Linked DNA regions of Homo sapiens: regions 1 and 3 are each linked to region 2. The links are contacts of gene promoters, found by promoter capture Hi-C in human tissues and cell types (Jung and others, 2019). All regions are on one chromosome and are shown on one strand. The core of a region is centred on a gene start or on the middle of the fragment in contact, and the rest is flanking DNA. Distances in the headings are between cores, read along the strand shown.

The links. Contacts are between HindIII fragments. The study calls those that stand out against the background at their distance.
Region 1: a fragment that was not itself captured here is called in contact with the fragment with the promoter of C3orf62 in region 2 in 16 of the 25 tissues and cell types used here (IMR-90 fibroblasts, aorta, bladder and 13 more).
Region 3: a contact is called between a fragment that was not itself captured here and the fragment with the promoter of C3orf62 in region 2, in 2 of the 25 tissues and cell types used here (pancreas and stomach).

Annotation. Positions count from the first base shown.
Region 1 is chr3:49,136,853-49,139,552 of GRCh38, reverse strand. All of the region lies in intron 1 of LOC124909377 (a long non-coding RNA gene), which reads right to left. Among named protein-coding and RNA genes, the nearest start is that of LAMB2, 5.2 kb to the right of the region's middle. The HindIII fragment of the contact is 9,716 bases long and covers 1-2,700 here.
Region 2 is chr3:49,275,791-49,278,490 of GRCh38, reverse strand. It overlaps C3orf62 (chromosome 3 open reading frame 62), which reads left to right and starts at 1,259. Exons shown (of 3, transcript NM_198562.3): 1 at 1,259-2,064. The coding sequence starts at 1,619. USP4 (ubiquitin specific peptidase 4) reads left to right here. Exons shown (of 22, transcript NM_003363.4): 22 at 40-1,347. The coding sequence ends at 198. RefSeq lists a silencer at 1,236-1,435 and an enhancer at 1,576-1,645. The HindIII fragment of the contact is 22,568 bases long and covers 1-2,700 here.
Region 3 is chr3:49,076,784-49,079,483 of GRCh38, reverse strand. QRICH1 (glutamine rich 1) reads left to right here. Exons shown (of 10, transcript NM_198880.3): 2 at 2,446-2,700. The coding sequence starts at 2,467. Among named protein-coding and RNA genes, the nearest start is that of QRICH1, 16 kb to the left of the region's middle. The HindIII fragment of the contact is 7,025 bases long and covers 1-2,700 here.

The sequences.
Region 1 (2,700 bases), core at 157-2,656, 140 kb after region 2:
TGCAAGCTCCGCCTCCCAGGTTCATGCCATTCTCCTGCCTCAGCCTCCTGAGTAGCTGGGACTACAGGTGCCCGCCACCACGCCCGGCTAATTTTGTTTTTGTATTTTTAATAGAGACGGGATTTCACCATGTTAGCCAGGATGGTCTCAATCTCCTAACCTCGTGATCTGCCCGCCTCAGCCTCCCAAAGTGCTGGGATTACAGGCGTGAGCCACCGTGCTCAGCCCCTTCAGACATTTTTTTTTGAGACGGGCTCTCACTCTGTCACCCAAGCTGGAGTGCAGTGGCACAATCTTGGCTCATTGCAGTCTCAACCTTCCAGGCTCAAGGGATCCTCCCGCCTTATCTCCTGAGGAGCTGGGACCACAGGTGTGCCCCACCATGTCCAGCTAATTTTTGTATTTTTTGTAGAGATGGGGTTTTTCCATGTTGCCCAGGCTGGTCTTGAACTCCTGAGCTCAAGTGATCCACCCACCTTAGCCTCCCACAGACCTATTATTTTTTCAGAAATAGGGTCTCATGGGTCAGGCACAGTGGCTCACGCCTGTAATCCCAACACTTTGGGAGGCCGAGGCGGGTAGATCATGAGGTCAGGAGTTTAAGACCAGCCTAGCCAATATGGTGAAACCCCGTCTCTACTAAAAATACAAAAAAAAAAAAATTAGCCAGGCATGTTGGCGGTTGCCTGTAGTCACAGCTGCTCAGGAGGCTGAGGCAGGAGAATTGCTTGAACCTGGGAGGTGAAGGTTGCAGTGAGACGAGATCGCACCACTACACTTACAGAGCGAGACTCTGTCTCACAAAAAAAAAAAAAGGAAAAGAAATAGGGTCTCACTCTGTCACCTGGGCTGGAGTACAGTGGCATGATCTTAGCTCACTACAGCCTCAACCTCCCAGGTTCAAGTGATCCTCCCACCTCATCCTGCTGAGTAGCTGAGACTACAGCACACGCCGCCACACCTGGCTAATTTTTAAATTTTTTTGTAGAGACAGGATCTCCCTATGTTGCTCAGGCTGGTCTCAAACTCCTGAGCTCAAGTGATCCTCCTGCCTCAGCCTCCCAAAGTGGTGGGGTTACAGGTGTGAGTCACTGCACCTGGCCCATCCTTCAGGTCTCTCGAAGGTAAGGCTAGAGCTAGTGTCATCTGCTCTCTACCCTGACCCTATCTCTCCTCTGCAGCCTGTGCCTGTGACCCACAGGGCTCCATCTTGCCCAGCTGTGATTCACACATGGGCACCTGCTTCTTCAGAGAGGGCATCTTAGGGCTGAGGTGCCAGGCATGTGCTCATGGCTCCAGAGGTGCCTTCCCACACTGCACCTCCTGTCCCACCTGCTTCACCTTCTGAGACCAACTCCTGGCTCTGCTCCCACTGCAGCTGGAAGCTGTGGCCCAAGAGGTGGCCACCCTATGCTAGGGGATGCCTGGTGGGGGTGTTAGGGGCCAGGGTGGACACCTGCAGGTCCTAGATTGGGTACTGTAGCAGGCACAGGCTGCTCCCTCCAACCTGGGACCCTGCCCACTGTTCAGTGGGCTCTTGTTGCCTTCCACAACTCCTCCCATAGCCTGGACATAGAGTCACAGCCTTGGAGCAGCATCAACAACAGGTACACAGCCAGGGGGACTGTGGGTGGGAGCCATGGGGGAGTCACAGGAAACCATGGCTTGGACATGGTGTTGTAGGCAACATATTCCACATCTGACCCACGCCCACCAGCTGCAGCAAATCCAGGCCATAGCAAGCTCCACAGGAATCCAGGCACAGGAGACATGGTATTGGGAAAGGGGACCTTGGGGCATGACTGCCATGACCCACATGCAAGCAGCCGTGCAGATCATCCAGCGCTTCCTCATGGGTACATATCTGCTTGTTGCATGTCTGTTCACAGCCAAGGGCAGGGTTAATAGGGTATGCAGGACACTATCATGATACTCCTTCCAGAATGAGGAATATTCATCAGGGCTGACCAGGGGTCAAGTGGGAACACTAGTGTGTGCGTAAATTTTTTTTTTTTTTTTGAGAGGGAGTCTTGCTCTGTCACCCAGGCTGGAGTGCAGTGGTGCAATCTCGGCTCACTGCAACCTGCGCCCCCCGGGTTCAAGCGATTCTCCCACCTCAGCCTCCCAAGTAGCTGGGATTACAGGCACACTGTAATTTTTTTTTGTATTTTTAGTAGAGACGGGGTTTCACCATCTTGGCCAGGCTGGTCTTGAACTCCTGACCTCATGATCCACCCGCCTTCGCCTCCCAAAGTGCTGGGATTACAGGCGTGAGCCACCGCATCTGGCCATGTGTGTAGATAAATTTTTAACAACTGGCTGTGAGTCAGGGGAAACTGATTTTTAGCATTTGTCAATATCCATGATGTAAGTAATGCTATCATGATTGATTTCAGTCCATACCATTTGACAACTTATTTGCAAAATTCCTGAAAATTTAACAATTGGCTCTTTTTATTTTAGTATTATTATTATTATTTTTGAGAGGGAGAGTCTCGCTCTGTCACCCAGGCTGGAGTGCAGTGGCGTGATCTCGGCTCACCACAACCGCCACCTCCTGGGTTCAAGCGATTCTCCTGCCTCAGCCTTCTGAGTAGCTGGGATTACAGGCACCCGCCACCACATCCAGCTAATTTTTGTTATTTTTAGTAGAGATGAGTTTTCACTACATTGGCCAGGCTGGTCTCAAACTCCTGACCT
Region 2 (2,700 bases), core at 10-2,509:
TCCAAGCACTGAATGGTCTTTCCCCCTCTTGTATTTCAGACTAAAGCAGCTTATGTGCTATTTTACCAACGTCGAGATGATGAATTTTATAAGACACCTTCACTTAGCAGTTCTGGTTCCTCTGATGGAGGGACACGACCAAGCAGCTCTCAGCAGGGCTTTGGGGATGATGAGGCTTGCAGCATGGACACCAACTAATGCTGACTCCACGATCCTGCCACCCTGTAGCGCCAGTGTAATCCCCCAGGAGAACATCTTTGACACTCTGCAGACTGCTAGTGTTCTGTCTAAAAACCAGACAAGGAAATACCCTTCTTTTATGAGCAGAAGGAAACAAAAAAAAAAAAAGAAGACCGTTTACCTAGAAGAAGCTATGTCAAGAGGCTGAATTATTTTTATTTTTAAACAGGTGGTGAGAAATTTCTGTGAAACCTGTGAAGCTGAAAAGGGGGTGGGATGGGGGTACTCAATGGAGTATGTCTGATGGATCCCGAAGAATGGAGAGGAACACAGGCGCTGAGTATGGAGCAGCCTGGAGACCCACCCCACCTGCAGGGCTGCCCTGAGCGCCTGGATTTCTGGTTCTGATGCCAATACTAGTCACCCCAAGTAGTCTGCTCACAGTAACCCAAACCTCAAGTAAACTCCCCTTTCCCTCGCTATGTGCACTGATATGGGTTTATAATTTTCTGAAAGTTACCCACTGAAGCCCATTTCTCCGTTGAGTCATCTTGTAATTTCCAGCTTTCTCCCCGCTAAGGAAGATATCTAGTGTTGGGGATCCTGGCCCCTCAACCTCCTGTGGAACCCAGCAGTTCTGTTATATCCCCTGCTACCCTAGATGAATTAAGACGGTTAAATACTGTGTGGAACTTTTATTAGATAACACACTTTTTATTAGATAACGCTTAAAGGAAGTCAGTACATAAAACTGCCCGGTGCTGTGTCCCGTCTAGTTGTTTCCATGTTGGCTTGAGAACAGAAATCTTTGTGGGAGTTAGCCGGGAAAGGGCTCCAGTTCATGGCGATTTAGGGTAGTAATACATTTTGGTGTTACCCAGATGCTTTCTAGAACGGGTTCTTTCCTCATCCCTGCCAAGACTCTTCCCGGGGCCCCCATTCGAAAGCCCCGTCCCCACTCCCACCGCGGGGCCAGCCGCTGCGTGTGGGCAAGGCCTTAAGGAACCGGACGTATGGGTCCGGGATTTTTTGTCTGACCTTCAACCTAATCCGTGGGGGTTTGGGGCCTGCGCGGGGCACGCGCATGCGATGACCGTTGGATGGGTCGGCGTCACTGCGCTGCGGGTGAGGACAAGGACGTGGCTGCCGACTCGCCAAAGGGGGGGTGCCGGTAGGGCCAGCGGCCTGGGAGCCGCGGTGGGGCGGGAGGCAGCGGCGGGGCGGGCCAGGAAGCTGTGGGAAGTGGGGCGGGGCGTCTTTGGGGCTTCTGGCAGATGGCGGGTTCCTCCGCGAGAGCCGAGAACCGCCTACTCCAGGAGGAAAGCCCGAGGGTTGTGGGTCCTGCTATAGCCAGGGCCAAGCTCCAGGAAATCGTGGCCATTCAGGGGTAGTTTGCAGCCTCATTTGTAACATTATTGTGTTGTCCTGTGCATTTCCAATGCATTACATAAAGACATGGTCGCTTTTAGGAGAAATGTCTGAAAAACTAAGAAGATGCAGAAAGGAACTGACTGCAGCCATTGACCGGGCCTTTGAAGGAGTTAGTTATTCCCAGGAGTGCACAGGCCAGCAGAGGCTGGAACTGAGCGCCGCGCCGCTCTCCTTCTCGCTGCCCGTGCACAGGCTCCTCTGCAGAAGACATCCTCTGGCAGCCTGCTCTTCTGCTGCTCCTTTTGCTGCTGTCCCATGTGCTCCTGAGAATGAGAACCCTGCCTTTGCAACAAACCATGCCCCGGTAAATGCAAAACCACATGCTCTGTGCCCCGAGAGAAAACCTCTAACCAGCAAGGAAAATGTATTGATGCATTCCTCCATTTTGGCACCTGAAAGAGAGTCTTGGAGAACTGCAGGAGAGGGGGAAAACTGGAGAAAAGAAAATTTAAGGTGATTCTAATTTTGATGGTTTAACAGCTACAATTAAGGGGATTCTTGTTTCTGAAAAAGTTGTTGAAGATCCTAGATTTAGTTCATGACAGTGCTCTTGCCTCCTCTTGGCAGCTCTGTGACTGCATTTGGGGAGTTGACAGACATTCTTCAGAATCTGGCCTAGGAAACAGTTATATTTTGTGTATATGTTCCAGTTGAGGGGCTAGTTGTCAATCGTTGATGTCAAAAACCAGTCATGGAAACCACTTTGCAGTACCCAAAGGGGTAGTGGATGTAAAATAACCGGGTTTTAAAAATAACCTTATTTTTTAAGTTGCAGAAACAAAAGTCTTAATTCCATCTTAACTCCTGTGTTTGAATCTGGACACTGGGGCCTTTGATACCCTCCTTTGCCCACATTAGGGAGAGGCTTAATTGAAGGCTGGGCCCTACTTCCTGGCTTCATCTTTGCCTCTGCTCCCCGCTCTTACCCCAGATCTTTTTGGACCATCACCAGGTCTCTTCTAGACTTTTTCTTCTCCCGAGTAACTTGAAATTGCCTGGTCCCAGGCACCTTGACTTGGAGAAGGGATGAATGTATGAGATGAAACTTCAGGCCGGGCGCGGTGGCTCACACTTGTAATCCCAGCACTT
Region 3 (2,700 bases), core at 107-2,606, 200 kb after region 2:
TTATATTTATGTAAAAATTATATTTATATTACATAATTGTAATTATTATAATATTTTATTATAATTATTTATTTTATTTTATTTATTTATTTCTTTTAACAGATGAAAGTCTCTCTAGGTTTCCCAGCCCAAAGACCTGGTCTCAAGCAATCCTCCACCTCAGCCTCCTGAGTAGCTGAGACTACATGTGTGCACCACTGTGACCAGCTGATAACTTAATTTTTTTGTTTGTTTGTTTGTTTGTTTTTTTTAGACAGAGTTACGCTCTGTCGCCTAGGCTGGAGTGCATTCGAGTGATCTCGGGTCACTGCAGCCTCGATCTCTGGGCTCAAGCAATCCTTCTACCTTAGCCTCCGTAGTAGCTGGGACTACAGGTGCATACCACCATACCCAGTTAATTTTTATATATTTTTTGTAGAGATGGGGTTTCTCCATGTTGCCTGGGCTGAGGTGGAAGGATTGCTTGAGTCCGTGGAGCTATGGATATTACAGAAACCAATTGGGTGGCTCACGTCTATAATCCCAGCACTTTGGGAGGCCGAGGCGGGAGGGTCACCTGAAGTCAGGAGTTTGAGACCAGCCAGGCCAACATGGCAAAACCCAGTCTCTACTAAAAATACATAAATTAGCTGGGCATGGTGGTGGGCACCTGTAGTCCCAGCTACTCGGGAGGCTGAGGCAGGAAAATCACTTGAACCTGGGAGGCTGCAGTGAGCCGAGATCGTGCCACTGCACTCCAGCCTGGGCGACAGAGGGAGACTCCAACTCAAAAAAAAAAAAAAAAAAAAAGGACAGGTGTGGTGGCTCACGCCTGTAATCTCAGCACTTTGGGAGGCTGAGGCAGGCGGATCACGAGGTCAGGAGATCGAGACCATCCTGGCTAAGATGGGGAAACCTCGTCTCTACTAAAAATACAAAAAAATTAGCTGGGCGTGGTGGTGGGCGCCTGTAGTCCCAGCTACTCGGGAGGCTGAGGCAGGAGAATGGTGTGAACCCAGGAGGTGGAGCTTGCAGTGAGCCAAGATCAAGCCACTGCACTCCAGCCTGGGCAACAGAATGAGACTCCATCTCAAAAAAAAAAAAAAAAAAAAAAAAAAGGAACCATAATTCTTCGTTTTCCACATTGAATTTCAAATGCAGCAGGTATATATGAAGCAACTACCATGGGTGAGCTATTCGGAGAGAACCAGGACATAGTCTTGTCTACCAAGAACTTAGAGCCTAGGTAGAAGAAAGGAGACGTTTACCCACATATTTTATATCTGTAACATAAGGTAGAGCATCTGGTCAGTCTAGTGTATCTATCCTGATTGCTCAAGGGAACAAATCACCTTTCCAGACATTCAGAATTGTCTGATAATCCTTTTTGGCAAAAACGTTCGCTTGTTTTCTGTTACTCTTTCATCCTGCTGCTACTTTTGTTCTGGAGGTCGGGCTGTTGAAGGGAGGATGGTACAAAGGTAGCAGCGACAGGGGTCAGCAGTCCACAGATTGCACACTTTTCCCTCAGATGATGAGAGTTAACTGTACGTCTGCAGGTTAATTCTTAAGGTAATTAAATACCTGATGAAAACTTGTAGAATTTATTTCTGAATTTTAGTAGTGACCTGGATATTTAAAGCACTATTTACCTTTTTTCCAGAATTATTTTAATAGTATTAGTTACATTTCTGTAGTGCTATCTATGTGCTAGATGATTTTCTAAATGCCTTATTTAATCCTTATGTCAACTGTGAGGTAAGTACTATTGTGTCCCCATTTACTCACAAGAAAACTAAGGTTAATTGACTTTTCTAGAGTTACATAATAAAGGAGACATAAAGTTGGGATTTGAACCCAGGCAGCCTGGCTCCAGAGTCCATGCTTTTAACCAGTAGTAAGCTGTGTTGCAAAAGAATGTGAGCACCACATGGCAAAATAGGATTTTTGGTTTTTCTGATGGGAGATGAAGAACATATCCTCTGCCTCTTGTGTCTTGCCACAACTAGGTGGCATACCTATCTCTGCTGTAGGAAATACTTGGAAATAAAACATATCCATAGGAATCCCTGCCCCTAGCTTCCTCCTTGCTTGGTGTCCTCTCTGTGATGGTCACAGAGCAGTTTTGCATGTGACATTTACTGTCCAGTGCTTGGCTCTGCAGAGAAGATGGGATTGACCTAGTGCTGGGTAGGAAGTGTGTTTTCAGCCTGTTTCATCCAGTATTGTGAAGCATGTGTTTGTTTTTTTGTTTTCAGTGTGATAGTTTTATTTAAGAAATGTTAATAGAAATAATTTTCAAACATCCATTAATTGAAAAAATAAGGTGGTATAATAAAACTTTATTTTTTGATTCTATATGTATACAGCTGCCCTGAATATATTCCACTCTTGTGCAAGGGTAATTGCTTCTGGGCATTTCCTGCTAAAAACAGTAACATAATTTTGACTTCTGTTTATTTCTAGGAACCCTAAGGACTCTGCAATATGAATAATTCCCTAGAGAACACCATCTCCTTTGAAGAGTACATCCGAGTAAAGGCACGGTCTGTCCCGCAACACAGGATGAAGGAATTTCTGGACTCACTGGCCTCTAAGGGGCCAGAAGCCCTTCAGGAGTTCCAGCAGACAGCCACCACTACCATGGTGTACCAACAGGGTGGGAACTGCATATACACAGACAGCACTGAAGTGGCTGGGTCTTTGCTTGAACTTGCCTGT